Regions from separate parts of the Homo sapiens genome. Here all the other regions are linked to region 4. The links are contacts of gene promoters, found by promoter capture Hi-C in blood cells and fetal thymus (Javierre and others, 2016). All regions are on one chromosome and are shown on one strand. The core of a region is centred on a gene start or on the middle of the fragment in contact, and the rest is flanking DNA. Distances in the headings are between cores, read along the strand shown.

Region 1 (2,982 bases), core at 477-2,976, 610 kb after region 4:
AGACAGTATCTATTTTCCTGACTTCCTGAGGGGATTCACAAAGCTGAACTACTAGTCTTGCTTGGGCTGGGGTAGCAAAATACAGGAGAAACATCATCCTGAGAATGGGCCCAACAAGAATGAACGTGGGAAACTTTCTCACTCGGATCCTGGTCTCCCGAGAGACGGAGGAAACCCACGAGGCCCTGGGTTCCAGTGGCACCTTTCTGTCACATAGTCTTAAAGTTCCCTGCATTGTAGGAAAAGAAAAAGAAAGGACGCAAACATCGTCATTGTTCCCATTTCGCAGATGGGTGAGTGGAAACTTATGGCTAGAGATCACAAGGTACTGGAAGCACGTGTATGTGCTGGGATAGGAGAGAGTCCACGTTCCTTGGCACTGAAGGGCCTCTGGCCCTTTGTGGGAAACATCAGGAGGCCATGACCATTGTGTGACCAAAGAAAATTACAGCAGGAAACTCCTCTGAGTTTCCGGACCTTCCCCCTGGGACACCACCTCCTCTGTCATACCCCTCTCCAAAACTTAGGTGGCCGCCAATGTCAAGTGCTAAAGCTGGGACCCAGTCGGGTATTCAAGATGTGCCACAATGTGTCTCCACCTCAGCGACGCGACCTCATTTGACAGTACTCCCCTCCAGCTGTACTGTCCCCAAAGAGAACGTGCAATCTGCATGGATTAAACCTTTACTATGTACCAGCCTCTGGAGCTCTGAGCTTTATATGTCTATTATTTCATTTCATCTTTACAGTCCTCTGAGGTAGACACAATTTTTTTTTTTTTGAGATGAAGTCTCGCTCTATTGCCCAGGATGGAGTGCAGTGGTGCGATCATGGCTCACTGCAACCTCCACCTCTCAGGTTCAAGCGATTCTCCTGCCTCAGCCTCCTGAGTAGCTGGGACTACAAGTGCATGCCACCACGCCCGGCTAATTGTTTGTATTTCATATTGTAGTTTTGTAGAGATGGGTTTTCACCGTGTTAGCCAGGATGGTCTTGATAGTAGGCACTATTATTATCTTCATTTCACGGATGAGGAAACTGAGGTGTGAAGAGGATAGTGATCCACTCAAAATGACAGAGCCAGTATGTGGCAGAATAAGAGGCCAGTCCCTAACTGCCAGACACCAAGTCCTCATTCGCTACCCTGATATTTACAGATGTTTATTGATGTAGGTTTAGCTGTTTGTTTTGAGACAAGGTCTCACTCCATCACCCAGGCTAGAATGTCATGGTGCAATCACGACTCACTGCAGCCTTGACCTCCTGGGCTCAAAGTGATCCTCCCACCTCAGCCTCCCAAGTAGCTGGAACTACAGGTGCACACCACCATGCCCAGCTAATTAAAAAAATTTTTTTTTGTGGAAATGGGTTCTCATTATGTTGCTTGGCTGGTCTTGAACTCCTGGGCTGAAGGGACCCTCCCACCTCAGCCTCCCAAAGTGTTGGGATTACAGGCATGGGCCACCATGCCCTGCCTGTTTATTGACGTCTGTGCATTGTTTGGCTCTGATGTGAATACTATCCCGCTTTGGAGAGTAAAGGCTGAGAGGCTGGATTCCAGAGCGCAACAGTCTGCTGCTGTGCAGTGCAGCAGCCACAAGGAACATGTGGCTATTTACATTTAAATTAAATAAAATTACAAATTCAGTTTCTCAGTTGCATGAGTCATATTTCAAGTGCTCCACAGCCACACAGGGCTAGTGCTGCTGTTTGGAGCAGTGCAGATATACACGGTTTCCATCATCACTAGAAGCTCTATGGGACAGGGGTGGTCTAGAAGTGGCCTCACTGCACACCTGCTGGCCAGGCCACCTCCTCCTGGGGCTCAATCATCCAGACAGTGTTGCTAGCCAGGACCCCAACAGACCTCATGGAACCCACGGTCCTTCATTTCTCAAATCCCCAGATGAGTGTCCCTTGGCTGGTCTTCTTGGGGACTGGTGCTGAACAAGGTGGAGATATAATTCCTCACAAACACCAGTCCAGCTAAAGCCAGATGTGTGAGGGTGCAGGGGGCTGTCGAGGAAGGTAACATTCTAAAGTCACAGAATGTCAGAAGTAGTGGGGCATCAGGAAAATCTGTTCCAACCTTCTAATCTCAGAGACAAGATAAGACAACTATGGCCGTATAGGGGCGTGGTCTGGCTCCTGGCCACAGGAAGCTGGTGGAAAATCTAAAGAGGCACCCAAACAGGCAAAGAGTCACCCCTGGATCCAGAGGCCCATGGGGAGCAGGCTGGAGCCCTGGAATCCCACTTTGCACGCCCTGTGGCTTTGCAGGAAAGTATATGGGAAATGGGGGATTCTTGAAGGGGGTCCCACTGCTCCTATTCCTGGAGAGGGGGCAGGGAGAGCTAAGGAGAGATTTGTTCTTCAGGCATCTGATGTAGCTGGAGACCGTGGGTACCATGGCCAAAGCTGAGGCAGCCAGGGTGGGACAGGGGCCTCCAAGCAACACAGCAGTGTTAGCAGTTCACCTGGACCTGTTGATGAGCTGTCTTAGATGCACGAAGGCAAGAGATGTCTCATCTCGTCTCTAAGATCTTAGATCTTAAGTGCAGAGGGAAGGCAGCTGGGAGTGTGGACGGCAGCCACAAGGGAGAAAAGTGCAAGAGCATTTACAACCAGAAGAGAAGCCGAGGGGACATGATGGCCCATGGACAATGTAGCCATGGACAGTGCCCTGGGAGGCTGGTAAGGGGGGTGCTGGGACTGGTGGTGAAGAGATCATTTTTAAGAAAAAGAATGGATTTACTTTCTCCATCAAACCAGCCAACATCTATTTGCTAGTCTTTAAACATTTTAACTACATGGGTACTTATTTATTTACTTTTTGAGATAAGTTTTCCCTCTGTTGCCCAGGCTGGAGTGCAGTGGCTCCAGAACCAGGCTGGAGTGCACGGCTCACAGCAGCTTCTACCTCCTGGGCTCAAGTGATCCTCCTGCTTCAGCCTCCCGAGTAGCTGGGACGACAGGCATGTG
Region 2 (2,892 bases), core at 341-2,840, 580 kb before region 4:
GCTCCCCATCTCCTGTTCTGTCCGTGGTCATCTCAGTCTGGCCATGACATACACTATGAAAAGGACCTTTAGAGCAGTAATATTTTTGATGCAGATCAATTTTTAGTATATAAAATAATTACTCTAGAAGGGCAAGAGTTTCTAAGGATAAGATGACTTTTAAGTGTTGACCAAAAGAAAAAACCTGAGGCAATGTTGATACAGAGAGTTTATTTGGGGCAAGGTTGAGGACAGCTCATAAATCAGTTGAATTCCTATCTTCCAAAGGTCCCAAAATAGCCTGTCTTCCAAAGATCCCCAAATATCTTGAGGTTTCTGTGCCTATCAGAAAGTGGCATTACTTACCCCAAGGTCAGGATCCTGCAAAGGAAAAATATAGACAAGGTACCAGGCCATTTTTTCCAAGTCTTGGTTTTATAAAGTCAACATTAATCCCTCAAAGCAGTCTGCTCAAACTTGAAAATATGACATTCCATTCAAAGCTTTAGTAAAATAACCAGTGTTTCCAATGTGTCCTGTTACAAAAGGAAAAGAGATTCTTATTGAACTTATACAAATAGCCACATTGCAATAAAATGAGAATACAATTTTCAAATTCTAGAGAAATCAGGTAGAGAGAAAGGTAAATGTTTCAATTTTTCTCACAAAAGTATACTTTACTCAATTGCTGTAAACTATAAATAGCTTAAAAAATGTATTGACTCTAGAAAGCAAAATATAAAAACAATCAGCAGTATTTCAAACAAAATGAAGTCATAACAAATTATTTCAGTCTTCTGTCATTCAGTCCTATGTAATTAACTTTTGCTGTGTTTGAAATTGGGTTAGCAATGTTTATAAACCCATCAGTTTTTTATTAGAGTTCTGAATGTTTTTACCTCATCCAATGGTATAATCTCCAAAGTTATCAGAAACCTGTATTCAAGAGTACTTGTCATAGTCCTTTCCATTAATTTCCTTGAAGACACAATGCTTTAGCATTTGCAAAAAGGTTTGAGGATAAAAAGTGATTTACTGCATATATCAAGACATATCAGATTTTTATAAAACCTCATACAATTTTGGAGAGCATACATTAATAACATCCACACAAAGATAATTCAAAGAAAGTCAAACACCATTTCTTATTGGATAATACTTCCCATATGATTTTAACATCCCTTTAACATCCCAATAAGCCTAATATGTCCCTCTTGGATTTTCAAGAGCCCTCCATTTTTTTGAATGTCCAAGAGTTACTTTGAGGTCAAAAAGACTCAATTTTAGAATTTGAATTTTGTTTTTGGGAGGTATGTCAAATATCAAAGGTTGAAGACACTTGATATTAAAATAAATCACAGGTCACTCTAAAATAATAGTCATCTATTTAGCTAAAGTGATAATTCAAAGATTTCAGAAAGCAAAAACTTTTACTCAATAGAGCAGCAACTCAGTTTTCCAATCAAAAGACCTAATAAAGGCAGCATCAGATTATCTCTCCCATTCTCCTCTCCTTTTAAAAATTTTGCAATTTACTGAAAAGGTGAACAAAAATATTTTACTATATCTTATTAATACTATATGAAAATATTGTTCAGAAGAAAAAAACAAATGTAACCCTTGTATCAATGTATTATTATTAAATCTAATTTTAATAAAACCTTATATACAGATCCATCGAATCTTGATCAGCTTTGATCACACAGCATAAGATTTTCATAAGCCTTTTATAACCTATTACAATTTTTCCCATTTTCTTTTTCCCCAGTTTTTTATATATGTTTAGTTTATCTTTTTTAATTTAAATAACTTTTACATCACCTTTAAGCCAGGCAAACTTACTTATCTGTTAAACATTTTAACATCTTTTTAGAAAACTTTCTTTACCAAAACACATCCTATTTTTCTTTTACACTTTATATACAGAATAGTTTCTCTTACATCTAGTAGTTTTAATCACATATATTAATTACAATGTTAACTCTTAGTAACCCTAATTCTTACTGAAAAACCTAGGAAGTAAGCAATTTTAATTGTTATGTACCAGGTGTAGAACCCAGGACAGAGAAGGCTGTGAAGACAAGTCCTGGAGGATCTGATTCCTCCCAGCATGGCTAGAAGGCACAGCCGAGTCAGGGAGGACATCCTGGGCTTGGCTCTGTACCAAAGCTGGGGTGGCCTAAGTCACCAGACCTCACTATGGGCACTTGTCTAGACCTTACAATCTGAAGGCTCAAAACTAAACACATAAGATCATAGATAAACCAAACAGCTATCAAAAATGTCACAGAAAACAACAGTTTTATGACCTGAAAACTTCTATCAGAGACAGTCTAAACCTTTCTGACCAGTAGTCCCAGGCAAAATGTCTGAATTGTATTTAATACTGACTGTTCTGAAGACATTCAAGTTTTATTTTATCAGCAATTTTAAAACTAGCTTTATTTATCAAAGATTACTAAAGTCATGTGAACTTGAAAAGTTTTTGCACATATTTACTTAATTTATGAGTACTCATTTATTTACAAGTCAATTTGGTACCAGGTAGGCAATATACAAACACAGACATGCATATATGTATAGTAAAAATACAAAATAAATATTTTATAGTATAGATTTTATAATTTCTGCCATAAGACAAGTAAAACTCACTCATTTAAAAGAACACTTGGATTAAATTGTACCTCTGTAAATGGAACAAGTTATGTCCAAAGCTTTTACTGAATTTTAGAGAAAATAGGATAGCAAATTTACATTTCATAGAGGGAGAATTCAAGATTTCCAAAAGGTCAAGGAAGTTTTACATTATCATTGGCAAAAATTATGTCATCAAAAGAGAAGCAGAACAAAGGAGTGCCTATAATTAAAGGTTTAAGAAGAAATGAATTCAGTTGACTGATAAGCTTCTATGGA
Region 3 (2,731 bases), core at 147-2,646, 640 kb after region 4:
AACCTCTTATTTCAAAATTTATGAACCTCACCACTCGTTAGTTGACAAGAGTATTAACCTAAGCATGGGGCCCCTCTTGGAGCAGGGCCCTTATGACTGCATAGGTTGCTGCCCATGAAGCTAGCTAGCCCTGCTGACCTTGTTGCTGGTTTTCCAGGAGTAGATGCCGAGACTGTGCTTGGTGTACAGAGTATTTATTAGGAATCAACATCCGTGGATGAGAGGAGGAGGAAGCAGTCTTGGGCAGAGGGAAAAGTCAAAATGTGATGCAATTGTGACAAAGCTTTGGCCATTCCTATGGGATGTTCTGGACCATACACGGCCCATCAGAGATGCTAGATTAAGCCAAAATGTCTGTGTCTTTATACCTTACTTCTATCAGTCATTGGATGTGAACTGCCCCAACTTTGGGAGGTGGGATTAGCAGAAAGTTTCCAGGTCTCAAATCCTTTAGAGTTTGTTTCAGTTGCAGAGAGCTAACTCAACCAAGGGCATGACCCTCCCAGGCTGAGCAACATCCTGCTTTCTCTTCTGAAGAAAACAGTAGCAAACCAAATCCAGCTCTCTATATATGATAATATATCACAGCCAATAGCTGAGGTCAAGAATAGTAGATTGACCTCGTGTGGTGACTCACGCCTGTAATTCCAGCACTTTGAGGTGAAGGTGGGAGGATCGCTTGAGGCCAGGAGTTTGAGACCAGCTGGGCAACATAGTGAGACTCTGTCTATACAAAAAATTAAAAAAAAATTAACCTGGTATGGTAATGTGTGCCTGTAATCCCAGCTACTTGGGAGGCTGAGGTGGGAGGATCACTTGAGCCTGGGACGTTCAGGCTGCAGTGAGACATCATCGTGCCACTGCACTCCAGCCTGGGTGACAGAGCAAGACCCTGTCTCAAAAAGAAAAAAAAAAAAAAAAGGAAATTGCTTAAACATTAGGGAATCAGAGAATCAGTCACTGATGGATTGATATATATTAACAGAATGATGCATAAAGATACAGATATAGAAAGGTTGAAAATAAAATGATGGAAAAAGATATACTATGTGAACAGTATGAGAAGGAAGCTGGCATAACTATATTAAAATCAGACATAATACTTTAAGGCAAAAATCATTATTAGAGTTAGAATGAGGTTGTTTGTGATGATAGAGGCTCAAATCAAGAGGAATGTTAAAAAGGAAGAGGGATAACTCAAGGGAAGGTCAGCGAAGATTGTGGAGGAAATTGTGTGTTTCCAGGAAGCTCCAGGCTCCTCACATTTTCCCCACCAGCCAGCAGATAGATATTCCATAGTTTAATTTCTTTAGCTTAGTGCTTTATTGTATAGTTAAAATTAAAAAAAAGAAAGCAAGAAAGGAAGGAGCCATCAAGTTATGAAAGGACATTGAAGAAACTTAAATACATATTACTAAGTGAAATAAGTTGTATTAGTCCATTTTCATGCTGCTGAAAAAGACATGTCTGAGAGTGGGTAATTTATAAAGAAAAAGAGGTTTAATTGACTCACAGTTTCACATGGCTGGGGAGGCCTCACAATCATTGCAGAAGGTGAAGGCACATCTTATATGGCAGCAGACAAGAGAGACCTTGTGCGGGGAAACTCCCATTTTTAAAACCATTAGATCTTGTGAGACTGATTCACTATCATGAGAACAGCACTGCAAAGACCCGCAAAAGTCATTATTAGAGATAGAATGGGGTTGTTTGTGATGATAGATGCTCAAATCATTTTTCCCCATGATTCAATTACCTCCCACCGGGTCCCTCCCACAACATGTGGGAATTGTGGGAGCTACAATTCAAGATGAGATTTGGGTGGGGACACAGCCAAACCATATCACTAGTCCGTCTGAAAAGGCTACATAACATATAATTCCAAATATATGACATTCTGGAAAAGGCAGAGCAATGGAGACAGTAAAAAAAAAAGATTTCTGGGTGTTTGGTGAGGGGTAGATGAACAGGCAAAGCACAGAGGATTTTTAGGGCAGTGAAAATACTCTGTCTGATACTATAATGGTGGATACATATTATCATATATTTGTCAAAACCCATAAAATATACCATACTAAGAGGGAACCCTAAAGTAAACTACAGTGATAATGACATGTCAACATAGGTTCATCGATTTTAACAAATGTACCTCACTAGTGTGAGACATTAATAATTGGGAAGCTGTGTGTGTGTGAACATCTTACTTTCTTCTCAATTTTTTGTAAAGCTAAAACTGCTCTGAAAAATAAAACTATTAATTAAAAAAATTAATAGGAGTCTGTGTACAGAGATTCTTTTTGTACAAGGAAAAAAACCAACTCAAATTAAGCCAAAAACAAAAGTAAATGCATGATAGGTCTTGGTCCTGCTGCTTGATGACTTAAATCTAAGGTTATGGCAAAACATCTGAAGCTCATTGCCAGGCTGTGATGGTGCAGGACCCTAAACAGAATGCTCACAATGGAGGGGCTCATGACATTAAGCCACAGAGGCACTATGAGAAGCTTGCCACAGGTGACAGCGACAGAGCTGTGAAACTTGCCTGTGGATCTATAATTTGGAAGTGGCCCACAAGATGAACTCCATGGGAAAGAGTTGGGCAGATAGATACATGGCAGGGCTGCTGAGTCCTGTGTGCAGGACACCCAACACGAAAACCTCATCCATTTTGTGCTGTCGCCTCTTTTCTTCCTCCAAAAACCCATATGATGTATATTTCTCTTACCTTTTT
Region 4 (2,712 bases), core at 179-2,678:
ATGCTATATGAGGGCATTAAGCTAAGAAACAAGCCAGTCACAAAAGTCAAATACTGGAAGATTCCACTTATATGAGGAAGTTAGTGTAGTCAAAATCATAAAGACAGTAAGTAGAATGGTAGTTGCCAGGGGCTGGGGGGAGGGAGGAATGGGGAGTTATTTTTTAATTAGTATAGAGTTTTAGTTGTACAAGATGAAAAGAGTTCTGGAACTAGATGGCAGTGATGGTTGCATATTATGAATGTATTATCACTAAACTGCACACTTTAAAATGTTTAAGATGGTGAATGTTCTTATATTTTACAACTAAAAAAATAAAAAATAAAACTACACATAGTGAAGAAGTAGGAAATGAAGTTGCAACCAAACGGATCAATATTTTGAGTGGGAAATCTAATACTTAATTCAGTGCTAATTTTTATATTTTTAGTAGAGACAAGGTTTCACCATGTTGGCCAGGCTGGTCGTGAACTCCTGACCTCAAGTGATCTGCCCGCCTCGGCCTCCCAAAGTGCTGGGATTACAGGTGTGAGCCACCGTGCCCGGCCTCACGCCCTTCTCTTAATTCCATTTTCTCTCCCCTCTGCCCCTTAATACACTGCACTTAACCTTGTCATAAGCCAAGGAGGACCTGAAATAAGAATACTCAAAACACGGTTGAAATAAACAAGAAGACAGAAACTAAAGCCAGCATTTTTTTTTTAATGCTTGGTAACTGTCCCTTTGTGTCTCCCTAAGTGCAGGATAAACTTCTTGGGGCAAATACAAACGTTTGATAAAATTCTGGGCCAAGGAGTCCTGCACTGGATATATTCAACAAATTACCTGCCGATGATAACAGCGTAAGTCAAACGAGTTCTAAAAGTAACAAATGACTTAGTTATCTGGATAAATCCGTCCTTCCTTTTCTTTTTCACCTAGCCCTTTTGTCGGGCCTCTAAAATGTAAGATAACTACGTGGGAAAGCAAGCAGCGGCTGGTGGTGTGTTTTTACCCTGATTTTATCACTCCAAGTATCTACCGTGGCTGGTTTTGCGAAGACTAGCTTTGTATCAGAATGAGGTGTGGCTGGAACGCCTGAGGAAAGCAAACCAAGTTTTCCAGAGGACGCCGTTGACAGCGTCTCCGCACACCGCGCCGGGGTAGGAACTTCCTCCCACCTGGTTCGCCCGGCGGGGAACCAATAAAGTTGAGCGCGTTCAAAGGGGTCCTAATCTTCCAGGGTCCACTGGGCAGGCCTGCAAAATAAGGCCCCTAGAAACTCCCTGAGGTTTTCAAGTCTTCTCCCTCTCCTCGGAATTTTTTCCCCTTCATTCGCATTACTTTTATTCTGACGGAAACGGCGCGGGCTAGGCCCCAGGAGGGGCGCATTTCAGGTGCAACTGGCCCGGCGATCGCGGCGGGCAACCCCTACGAGGCCCCCGGTTGACTAGGAGCTGGCGGTCCGAGCTGTGGCTTGGAAGACCGACGCGATGAAGCCCAGACCTGCAGGGTTCGTGGATAATAAACTCAAGCAGCGAGTCATCCAGGTGTGTATTCTGCACCGCTTGGCCTCGCCAAGGGCCCCGATCGCTGCCCCAGGGTGCCACTCCCCTTTTGTCGGGTGGCATCCAGGTGGAACTCAACTAGTCTTCTTTCCCCAGTCTGGGTCTGGGCGTGCGTCTGTTTCTCCTTAGTTGGTGCTGCCGGGGCCTTCCCTACCCACGTTGGTGCGGAGTCTCAGGGAGAAGCCGGGGATGGTGGGAGGGTGCAGCTTGGTAGGGCTGCCCAAGTTGTCTGGTCGTCTTCAGCGCAGATCATTCAGTAGAGTGGAGGTAGCCTTTGAATTTTAACCTCTTTGGCTTGTGAAGTTAGCACAGGAATGGTCTTCAAACGCTCGCATTGTAAGAGGTCCTTGAGAAGGGGTGGCATAAATAATATGTTAATTTCCGTTCTCAAGGAACTTACACACTAAAACGAGATAACATGGGTCTGGCAACAGTAACAGGCACTTTGCCTACGGTTTTCTCATTTTCATGACCATCAGTAAAAAGCAGTGTGTGGCAAATACCTCAGAATGTAAGCAAGCAGTCTGAGTTAAAAGGTGGGAGAGAATTTTCTTCACTTAGGAATTTGTGAGCTACACATTCTCCTTGTTTTTCTTTCACTTCACCAGCCCCTAAACAATCTCCTTTTCGGACCCATCTTTTCCTACCAACTTGTAAATGTTGGAAGTGCTCTGTGCCACTGTTCTCTTACCTCCCCTTCCTCCTCTTTCCTCATACACCTTTCTTATCTATCCATACTTCCTATGTGATCTCATTTAGTGTAATAACCTTTGAGTAGTATCTACATACTCTATTATCTATGTATTTATTTCATTTTATTTTTATTTTTCTGAGACATAGTCTCGCTCTGTTGCCCAGGCTAGAGTGCAGTGGCTGTTTATGGGCACAATCATAACTCACTGCACCCTCGGCCTCCCTGACTCAAGTGATCCTCCCTCCTCAGCCTCCCCAGTAGCTGGGACTACAGGTGTGCACCACCACACCTGGCTAATTTATTATTATTATTATTATTTGTAGAGACGGGGTTCCACTATGTTACTCTGGCTGGTCTCTAACTCCTGGGCTCAAGCGATCGGGCCTCAGCCTCCCAAAGTGCTGGGATTACCGGTGCAAGCTGCTGCACTGGCCTCTGTATATTTATGACTGCTAACTTTATATCTCCAGT
Region 5 (2,700 bases), core at 117-2,616, 580 kb after region 4:
AAAAGGCGGAATGCAACCCTCTCGCGGAACGAGCACAGGCATTCCCGTGTGAATAGCGCATCCACGGATTTCTGCAGGCTGGGAAGGGCGGGAAAGGGCGCACGGCCGAGAGAGGGCTGGAGGGGGTCCTCGATGGCGCAGGGAAAGGGCGCACGGCCGAGAGAGGGCCGGAGGGGGTCCTCGATGGCGCAGGGCTGATACCCAGACAGCCTTGAGTGGCCCAGGGACACTGAGCACACCCTCGCCCCACCACCAGCCCATGCTCCGTGGTCTGGCCCAGCCCAGCTGTAGGGTTTATACTAGGACGGTTGTTTATTCCGGTCTGAGTCAGAATTTGCTTCTGTTTTAAGAACGCCTCACAGCCTCTCCTTTCCCCTATCTATTCTGATGAAGGTTGAGCCTGGGAAGAAGGGCTGGAGCAGAAAGGGTCTTCTGCCTCAACGTGTTCTGCTGATAAACTTTGAGAATTCCTGCCTAGGGAGTCTGACCTAGATTTTGGCTCCAAAAGCCAGGGCTTCTTATCTCTGTCCCCCGCAGAGACCAGAACCTGGATGGGACAGGGCTCAGAGGTTGGGCACAGCCTTTGCTCCAAGGCTCCTGGGCACAGTGCCCACCTCCCATCCCCTGGTGAGCGTTGCCAGCAAGGCTATTATGAGGAAATCTTTCCTCCTCTTCCTTCCGAAGTCTCCCACGGGCCTATTAGCTCTGCAAGAGTGCAGGGGAAGGCTGCACAGCACTGCAGATGGAGGGGAAGGTGGCAGGGGCAGCAGGTGGCAGGGGCTCCCAGGGAACCTGTGGTCAGAGGGGTGGGGGTGATTCAGAGCAGGCTAAGAGTGGGAAGTGGACTGAAGACAGAAGGGCTGGAGGCACCATCACCCCATCCATTACACCCCAGACAGCTTGACTTTTGCCTAGCAACCCTTGGCTTCCAGGTGATGAGCAATAATGGTAGACACTGGGGTGCTCAGAAACCAATACCTCTAAGAGATGGCACTTTGAAATGCTAAACTGAAGAAGCCTCAAGATCTCTCTGACCTCCCCTTTCCTTCTGTCTCTCGATCCACTCTCCCCCAAAGCACAGGAGGAAGCTATTCTCTGAAGTTCCCTCACCTGCCTAAAGTCTGGACCTGCCAAAGATGAAAACAATGACGTCTGGTCCTTTCCATGAGTTATTATGAACTGAACTCATATTGCAGGAAGAAAGACAAGTCTGTCAACATGGCTAGACAGACTTGTCACAAACCACTGTCTGCTCTGCAGGCCCAACAGACTTTATCCCAGACCATTTATGTTCTTTAAGCCCAATGAATTCCCCTAAAAATCATTTACGACATCCCTAAAATCATCCGCACCTCCCCATCTCCCTTCCCCTAAGAGGAAGGGAATATAACCCTCTGTATCCCAATGCGTGGTAGGGAAATCTCTTGTGATTCTCCCCTGTCCACATTCATACATTTGTATGCCATTTCTTGTATTAGTCTTCCTTTTGCCAGTTGATTTTCAGCGGACCTTCAGAGGGTGGAGGGAGGTTTTCCTTTGGCCCCTACGTGGACGAGGGCTGCATTACGTTGTACACAGGAGCAGTGGGTTCCCTTGGGCACTGTGGGAGCCTCCCTTCAGCAAGAGCAGATGGGGTGAGGCTAGGGAAGGCAGCCTGGACTTACGTCGATGGAGCAGCCAAGGAGAGAGCCTTTTTGCAGAGCTTTCTGGATGATCTTGAACAGGTTGGGAGGGGGCTTCTTCAACTCATACCACTCAGCAATGCCTCCGGTGAAGTCTTCGAAGCCCTCAGTGGTGGCACCCCCTGATAGCGCTTCATAGCATCCGTTGATCCTACAAGAGGGGATTAGACGCTGCCGCTACCCTTGACACTACTGATGCTATAATCTCTCAAACAGCCACCCCCTAGTACCGTCTAGATTTGATGCTCCAGGGACCCCCTGCTCACATTCTCCTTGGCCTTGTTCCCAGCTCGGGGTGCTCAGGAAGGCAAGGTATAATGTCCACAGTTACCATTTCCCTGGTATTTTGTGTTTTAAAGAAAATCTCAGGCCGGGCGCGGTAGCTCATGCCTGTAATCCCAGCACTCTGGGAGGCCGAGGTGGGCGGATCACTTGAGGTCAGGAGTTCAAGACCAGCCTGGCCAACATGGCAAAACACCATCTCTACTAAAAATACAAAAAAATTAGCTGGGCATGGTGGTGCATGCCTGTAGTCCCAGCTACTTGGGAGGCTGAGGCAAAAGAATTGCTGAAACTCAGAACGTGGAAATTGCAGTGAGCTGAGATCATGCCGCTCACTCCAGCCTGGGTGACAGAATGAGGCTCCGTATTAAAAAAAAAAAAAAAAAAAAAGATTCTCGTAGAACCTTAGAGTCGGAAGGACCTTAGTGATTTTCTGGATGAACCTCCTGTATTGATTCCTTCTACATCCTGACAAGAAAGGGGAGGTCTACTAATGGGTCGTTTGGCATTGATAGCTTAAAAAAGGACAACCATTCAATAATGGAAGCAGTTTCTCTGAGAAACAGGCACGGTGTTGGCAAGGGCTTAGTGCTCCTGACTGCTGATGCTGGAGTCCGGTGGCTTCCCTGACCCCAGTATTGAGCAGTGGGACTTAGAAGCATCCGTCAGGCTCCAGGTTCTCACAGCTGACTCCTCCTTCCTGGATTGGGACTGTAAGAAACAGAAATCCACTTGC
Region 6 (2,818 bases), core at 161-2,660, 550 kb after region 4:
TTCCTTCCTAATAGAAGCTCCAAATGCTGGAGCATAGAGCATACAGCAGTTTGCCTTCCTTGTTAGAGCCGATTTACATAGAGCCGATTTACAGCTCAACAAGCTGTGCAGATTGAGTTAATACCTAGAACTGTCATGGGTTTTTATATTGCTGCTTTGTAGAGTTGTCACAGTTGACGGGCCCTTGTGATCTTTGAACGTCCTGCTGAGTCTAGCTATGACCACGTTGCTAAACGTAAAGCTCTAGGTGCCACACACACCACAAAGAGTGCTTTTCTCACTTTGATTTCCTTCCCATGACATCTGTCCCCTAACCTCATTATTTCTTGAAATTTTGTTATATTCCCACACATCTATTATAGTATGTAAAATTTTTTAAACTCTCTTGCAGCTGTACCCAAGAATTAAACCAAGACAAAGGAGCTTGGCCTGAAACTTCCACACAGAATTTTAGTCAATGAAGAATTAATCTCTGTTAAGAAGAAGTAATACGATTATTTTTGGCAAAAATTTCACAAGACTTATTTTAATGACAATGTAGCTTGAAAGCGATGAAGAATGTCTCTAGAAGAGAATGAAGGATTGAAGAATTCACCATTAGAGGACATTTAGCGTGATGAAATAAAGCATCTACGTCAGCAGGCCATACTGTGTTGGGGCAAAGGTGTCCCGTGTAGCACTCAGATAAGTATACAGCGACAATCCTGTTTTCTACAAGAATCCTGTCTAGTAAATAGGATCATTTATTGGGCAGTTGGGAAATCAGCTCTCTGTCCTGTTGAGTGTTTTCAGCAGCTGCTCCTAAACCAGTCCTCCTGCCAGAAAGGACCAGTGCCGTCACATCGCTGTCTCTGATTGTCCCCGGCACCAGCAGGCCCTTGGGGGGCTCACCTGAAGGCTCGAAGGCACTGCACACTTGTATATTGTCAGTGAAGAACTGTTAGTTGGTTGTCAGTGAACAATAACTTTATTATATGAGTTTTTGTAGCATCTTAAGAATTATACATATGTTTGAAATATTGAAACTAAGCTACGGTACCAGTAATTAGATGTAGAATCTTGTTTGTAGGCTGAATTTTAATCTGTATTTATTGTCTTTTGTATCTCAGAAATTAGAAACTTGCTACAGACTTACCCGTAATATTTGTCAAGATCATAGCTGACTTTAAAAACAGTTGTAATAAACTTTTTGATGCTAGCTGTTTACTGGTTTTTGTTTTTGATGTCATAAATAGACCTTGTTTAATAGTCACAAGCCGTTGGGATATCATACCCAGCTGAAAAAGAACAAACTGCTTAACATAAGTATATGTATCGTAATAAGAGTTTTTTACCAGCTAAGTGATTCAATGTAAGTGGTTTTTAAAATAAAATACTGTAGAGATCATGGTGATAGAAGCCTACTTTACATTTTACCTAGAGCCTCTAATAGACTGTTTTAGTGTCCTCATTGATTTATGGGGTGAAAACTTATATAGGCAAAATCTCCACATCATTTTATTAATATGTTAATAGGTTTGTGAATTGTTTCCAAACCCATTTGCTTAGTGGAACTACTTTAGTAGAAGATACAAATGAAAAACCATGGTCACTCTTCCTTACACATTTTTATGAGTAGCTAAATTCTAGCAAGGAAGGTAGATGAAAGAACATAATTTTGAGAATAACACTTTTGAGAGTAACGGAGAAGGAGTGACAACATAAACTAAACATCCGAAGACGTGTGGTAGGCAGAATTCTAAAGATGCCCTGCACCCCCATCCCTGTCTCCTGGTTATTCCTTGTATCACTAATGTAGGTACAATAAGTCCTTACTTAACATCATCATTAGGTTCTTGGAAACTGTGACTTTATTTTTCTTTTCTTTCCTTCCTTTTCTTTTTTTTTTGGGAGACAGGGTCTTGTCATGCTGCCCGGGCTGGTCTCTGATGCCTGGCCTCCAGTGGTCCTCCTACCTAGGCCTCCCAAAGCGTTGGGATTACAGGTGTGAGCCACTGCACCTGGCCAAAACTCAAAGTGAAAAGGTGTGTAACAAAACCATTTCTTTTTCTCATCAGTGTTCTAATGGTACAACATGAAGTGATGTTATTCGAGGACCTGCTGTTTCTGGTTGGTTGGTTTTACATCATTTTGCTCTAATTTGCAGTTACCAAGAACCTATCCGTGATGCTAGGTTTTGACGACTTACTGTACTGCTTTGAAGGACTTTTAAGATTTAAGTAAGTTTACGAATCAGTTGACCTTAAAATAGGGTGTTTAGCCTAGATTGTCCTGGTGGGCCACCGTAATCACAAGATCCCTTCACGGCAGGAGAGGAAGGCAGGAGGGCTGAGGCAGGAGGGTGGGCGGGGCAGGTGGGTGGGCAGTAAGACTTGGAGTGTGAAGACTTGACCTGCTGTCATTGGCTTTAAAGATGAAGAGGATCATGGAATGTGGGGGTCAGGGAACATGGAAGCTGAGAAAGACCCCCGGCTGGCCCATCCAGGAGATGGGGACTTCAGTCCTGATGGCCACATGGAACTGAACTCTGCTAACCTGAGTGGGCCTGGCTGGAAATGAATCCTCCCCAGGTCTCCAGAAGGAATGCATTAGTCCAATGAGACCAGCGTTGGACTTCTCATCTACAGAATTGTGAGATAATGGCTATTTTTTTAGGCCACTAAATTTGTCTTAATTTGTTACAACTACAGGAAACAACATGGATTCTAGTCCTGGGCTGTCGTACTTACCCATCAGGTGACCTTGCCAAGGACACCCGACCTCCCTGAGCCTTGTTCCCTCATCTGCGGAGTTTAATGCCATTGCCTTGGCATGCTTC
Region 7 (2,863 bases), core at 41-2,540, 620 kb after region 4:
AAGCACAAACAAAGTGGAGTGTCCCTGCCAAGTCACTTCCCTGCCCAGCTTCTCCTGGGAATTGACTGAACACAGCAAGACCCTTTTCCTGTCAGCTCCCACTGGTCATTTCCCCTCACTTGTCCAGCTTCCCCTCCCAAGAGTCTGCTTATCTCCACTTGCTCCTCCTTTACCCTAGAAAAGAAGAATCTTTTTCTGTTTGATTTTGAGCTGCTTGCAGATTCTCTGAATTGGAATTGTCTTTCTCTCTTTTTTTTTCTTTTCTCTTCTCTTTTCTTTCTTTTCCTTCCTTCCTTCTCTTTTTCTCTATTTTTTCTTTCTTTCTCCCTCCCTTCTTCCCTTCCTCTCCTTCTCTCCTTCTCTCTTTCTCTCTCTCTCTCTCTTTCGCTCTTTCTTTCTTGTTTCACTCTTGTTGCCCAGGCTGGAGTGCAGTGGTGCAATCTCCACTCACTGCAACCTTCGCCTCCCGGGTGCAAGTGATTCTCCTGCCTCAGCCTCCTGAGTAGCTGGGATTACAGGTACCAGCCGCCATGTGCAGCTAATTTTTTTGTATTTTTAGTAGAGACGGGGTTTCCTCATGTTGGCCAGGCTGGTCTTGAACTCCTGACCTCAGGTGATCCACCTGCTTTGGCCTCCCAAAGTGCTAGGATTACAGGTGTGAGCCACTGCGCCTGGCCTGCAATAGTCTTTCTTTCTATTGAAGTGTCCCTTTATAAAAGTCTGGATTTTTTTTTTTTTTTAAACAGAGTTTCACTCTTGTTGCCCGGGCTGGAGTGCAATGGCGCGATCTTGGCTCATTGCAACCTCCGCCTCCCGGTTCAAGTGATTCTCCTGCCTCAGTCTCCCATGGTTTTGTTTTTATTTGACATCCTCCATCTCTGGTTTGCAAGTCTGGGCATGCTGCCTGATGGGCAGGTACCACCGTCCACCACCAGGCTTTGCTTTCTTTACTCTTGAATAAGGCGGGGACACAGGTTCCATTGTGTAATGGTTGGCACTCTGGACTCTGAGTCCAGAGATGGGGATACAGGCATTCATTTCTAGCTCATGGGTTTCTGGTGCAAGGGTTTCATGAAGCCATCACAATTGAAAACAGAGGAAAGCGACAGCCCTGTCCTGGAAGCTGTTCATTTGTTCCACTGTCTGATTTCCATTGGCCCCACCCCGACTTCTTCTGGGCTCGAGGCTCTTGGGAGAAAGCTTGTCCTTCTGCCCAGTGGGGCAGAGCGCAGGCTTCTCCTCCCACTGATCTCCTCAAGGACAGCTCATCTCTGGAGGAAGTGACTCCTCCCAGGCAGGTGGAGGTCATTTCCCTCCTAAGTCATTTTAGCAACAAATGGGCAGATCAGACCTATCATTCCAGTCAACTCAGAAGCTTTGCACAGCCTGGGAGCAGAAGAGCCTCCTGGCTCACCTGAAGTTCCTCTTCCCCAGCTAGGCAACACCCTCTTTGGTGCAGCCCTGGCCACTCCCCTTGCCAGCCTTCTAGGGATCGCTGCGCACATAGAGCTCTGCTTACAAAGGGCTTTAGGCTGTCCTATGCCACCCAAATTTAATTGCAAACACATACAATGACTACTTTCCCCAACCATTTGGACAAAGTCTAGTTTTTAAACCTGAGTTAATGTTGCTTTTTCTACTTCCCAAAGCCTCTCACACTATGCTATCTCACTGACCCAGCAAAGTCTTCTCTTTCTCTGACCACACAATCCTTTTCACGGGAACACAAGGACATAGACAAACACTTCATGGTGGAAAACCTTCCTGGAGTGAGTCAGCCAGCCCTGAGGATGGTGGTGAGTCAGAAACAGCTGGGATTATCCAGAACTGCCTGGGTCTGGGCCACTGACCTTGTGAGTAAATGAGAGAGGGAGTGAGAGAGAGAGATAGAAAGAGAGAGAGAGAGAAGAAGAGAGAGAGAGAGAGAAAATAAGAGAATAAGAATGTGTGTGTCTCAGAGGGCCATGGCAATGGAATCTTTTTCAGTAGTATTTTTCTTTAGATTATTTTCTCCCTGGCCCTGGATGTTTGAGATGCATCAGAGGCACAATCTGCAGGTTCTGGATTTTTTTTTTTTTTTTTTTGAGGTGGAGTCTCACTCTGTCACCCAGGCTGGAGTGCAGTGGCGTGATCTCGGCTCACTGCAACCTCCGCCTCCCGGGTTCAAGCAATTCTCCTGCCTCAGCCTCTTGAGTAGCTGGGATTACAGGGGCTCACTGCCATGCCCAGCTAATTTTTGTATTTTTAATAGAGACGGGGTTTCGCCATGTTGTCCAGGCTGGTCTTGAACTCCTGACCTCAGGTGATCCACCCATCTCGGCCTCCCAAAGCGCTGAGATTACAGATGTGAGCCACCGTGCCTAGCCAGGTTCTGGAGATACTAACCAAAGCTTCCTTTTTAATTTTGCACCTCCACGTGTCAGTCTCAGTTTTTATTTGACATATTTGTGCACTTTACACATATTTGTGCACTTAATCTTCACAGCCAGTCAAGGGAGATCTTATCTCCTCATTTAATGGATGAGTAAACAGAGGCCCAGCAGAGCAGCTGACATGTTGTGTTGTAGAGCCAGCCTGGCTGCCAACACCTAGACCATGGTCCCTTGGGGTCTGTCCATACCCAGTGTAGGAGGGCAGAGGGAACGGCAGGCCCAGGCAGAGGAAAAGAACCTGTTTTCTTCCCCTCCCTCTTTCAGGTCCGTGATTTGAATCCAAAGGAGATCACAGAGAATATGAATTCCACAGGGCTGCAAAAAACGGTTTCATTTGAAAAGAGATTTCTTTCTCTTCTGAAGCAGCTGCAGGGTTTATTCTTTCCTCATAGCTGTAGCATGAGTATTGGACAGGCCTGTTAGATGCCACT

The links. The method cuts DNA at HindIII sites, captures the fragments that hold promoters and counts their contacts. A CHiCAGO score of 5 or more calls a contact.
Region 1: a fragment that was not itself captured here is called in contact with the fragment with the promoter of NVL in region 4 in 3 of 17 cell types (erythroblasts, M0 macrophages and monocytes); the score reaches 6.5 in erythroblasts.
Region 2: a contact is called between a fragment that was not itself captured here and the fragment with the promoter of NVL in region 4, in 1 of 17 cell types (M2 macrophages). The highest score is 5.4, in M2 macrophages.
Region 3: a contact is called between a fragment that was not itself captured here and the fragment with the promoter of NVL in region 4, in 1 of 17 cell types (total B cells). The highest score is 5.1, in total B cells.
Region 5: a fragment that was not itself captured here is called in contact with the fragment with the promoter of NVL in region 4 in 7 of 17 cell types (monocytes, total B cells, naive CD8 T cells and 4 more); the score reaches 9.1 in monocytes.
Region 6: a fragment that was not itself captured here is called in contact with the fragment with the promoter of NVL in region 4 in 1 of 17 cell types (M2 macrophages); the score reaches 5.7 in M2 macrophages.
Region 7: a fragment that was not itself captured here is called in contact with the fragment with the promoter of NVL in region 4 in 14 of 17 cell types (total B cells, naive CD8 T cells, erythroblasts and 11 more); the score reaches 11.6 in total B cells.

Annotation. Positions count from the first base shown.
Region 1 is chr1:223,723,182-223,726,163 of GRCh38, reverse strand. All of the region lies in intron 2 of CAPN2 (calpain 2), which reads right to left. Among named protein-coding and RNA genes, the nearest start is that of CAPN2, 12 kb to the right of the region's middle. The HindIII fragment of the contact is 6,664 bases long and covers 1-2,982 here.
Region 2 is chr1:224,913,868-224,916,759 of GRCh38, reverse strand. All of the region lies in intron 1 of LOC105373109 (a long non-coding RNA gene), which reads left to right. Among named protein-coding and RNA genes, the nearest start is that of DNAH14, 14 kb to the left of the region's middle. The HindIII fragment of the contact is 2,211 bases long and covers 485-2,695 here.
Region 3 is chr1:223,686,268-223,688,998 of GRCh38, reverse strand. All of the region lies in intron 2 of LOC105373281 (a long non-coding RNA gene), which reads left to right. Among named protein-coding and RNA genes, the nearest start is that of CAPN8, 22 kb to the right of the region's middle. The HindIII fragment of the contact is 2,221 bases long and covers 286-2,506 here.
Region 4 is chr1:224,328,888-224,331,599 of GRCh38, reverse strand. It overlaps NVL (nuclear VCP like), which reads left to right and starts at 1,428. Exons shown (of 23, transcript NM_002533.4): 1 at 1,428-1,529. The coding sequence starts at 1,473. RefSeq lists enhancers at 1,211-1,360, 1,381-1,430, 1,621-1,670, 1,721-1,860. The HindIII fragment of the contact is 14,633 bases long and covers 1-2,712 here.
Region 5 is chr1:223,746,130-223,748,829 of GRCh38, reverse strand. It overlaps CAPN2 (calpain 2), which reads right to left. Exons shown (of 21, transcript NM_001748.5): 5 at 1,665-1,833. Among named protein-coding and RNA genes, the nearest start is that of CAPN2, 35 kb to the right of the region's middle. RefSeq lists a silencer at 429-723. The HindIII fragment of the contact is 6,197 bases long and covers 1-2,700 here.
Region 6 is chr1:223,778,468-223,781,285 of GRCh38, reverse strand. It overlaps TP53BP2 (tumor protein p53 binding protein 2), which reads left to right. Exons shown (of 18, transcript NM_001031685.3): 18 at 392-1,393. The coding sequence ends at 433. Among named protein-coding and RNA genes, the nearest start is that of TP53BP2, 66 kb to the left of the region's middle. The HindIII fragment of the contact is 5,248 bases long and covers 1-2,818 here.
Region 7 is chr1:223,706,301-223,709,163 of GRCh38, reverse strand. It overlaps LOC105373281 (a long non-coding RNA gene), which reads left to right and starts at 1,514. Exons shown (of 3, transcript XR_949164.2): 1 at 1,514-1,796. It also overlaps a transcript of CAPN2 not described here. RefSeq lists enhancers at 806-1,305, 1,306-2,505. The HindIII fragment of the contact is 175 bases long and covers 1,203-1,377 here.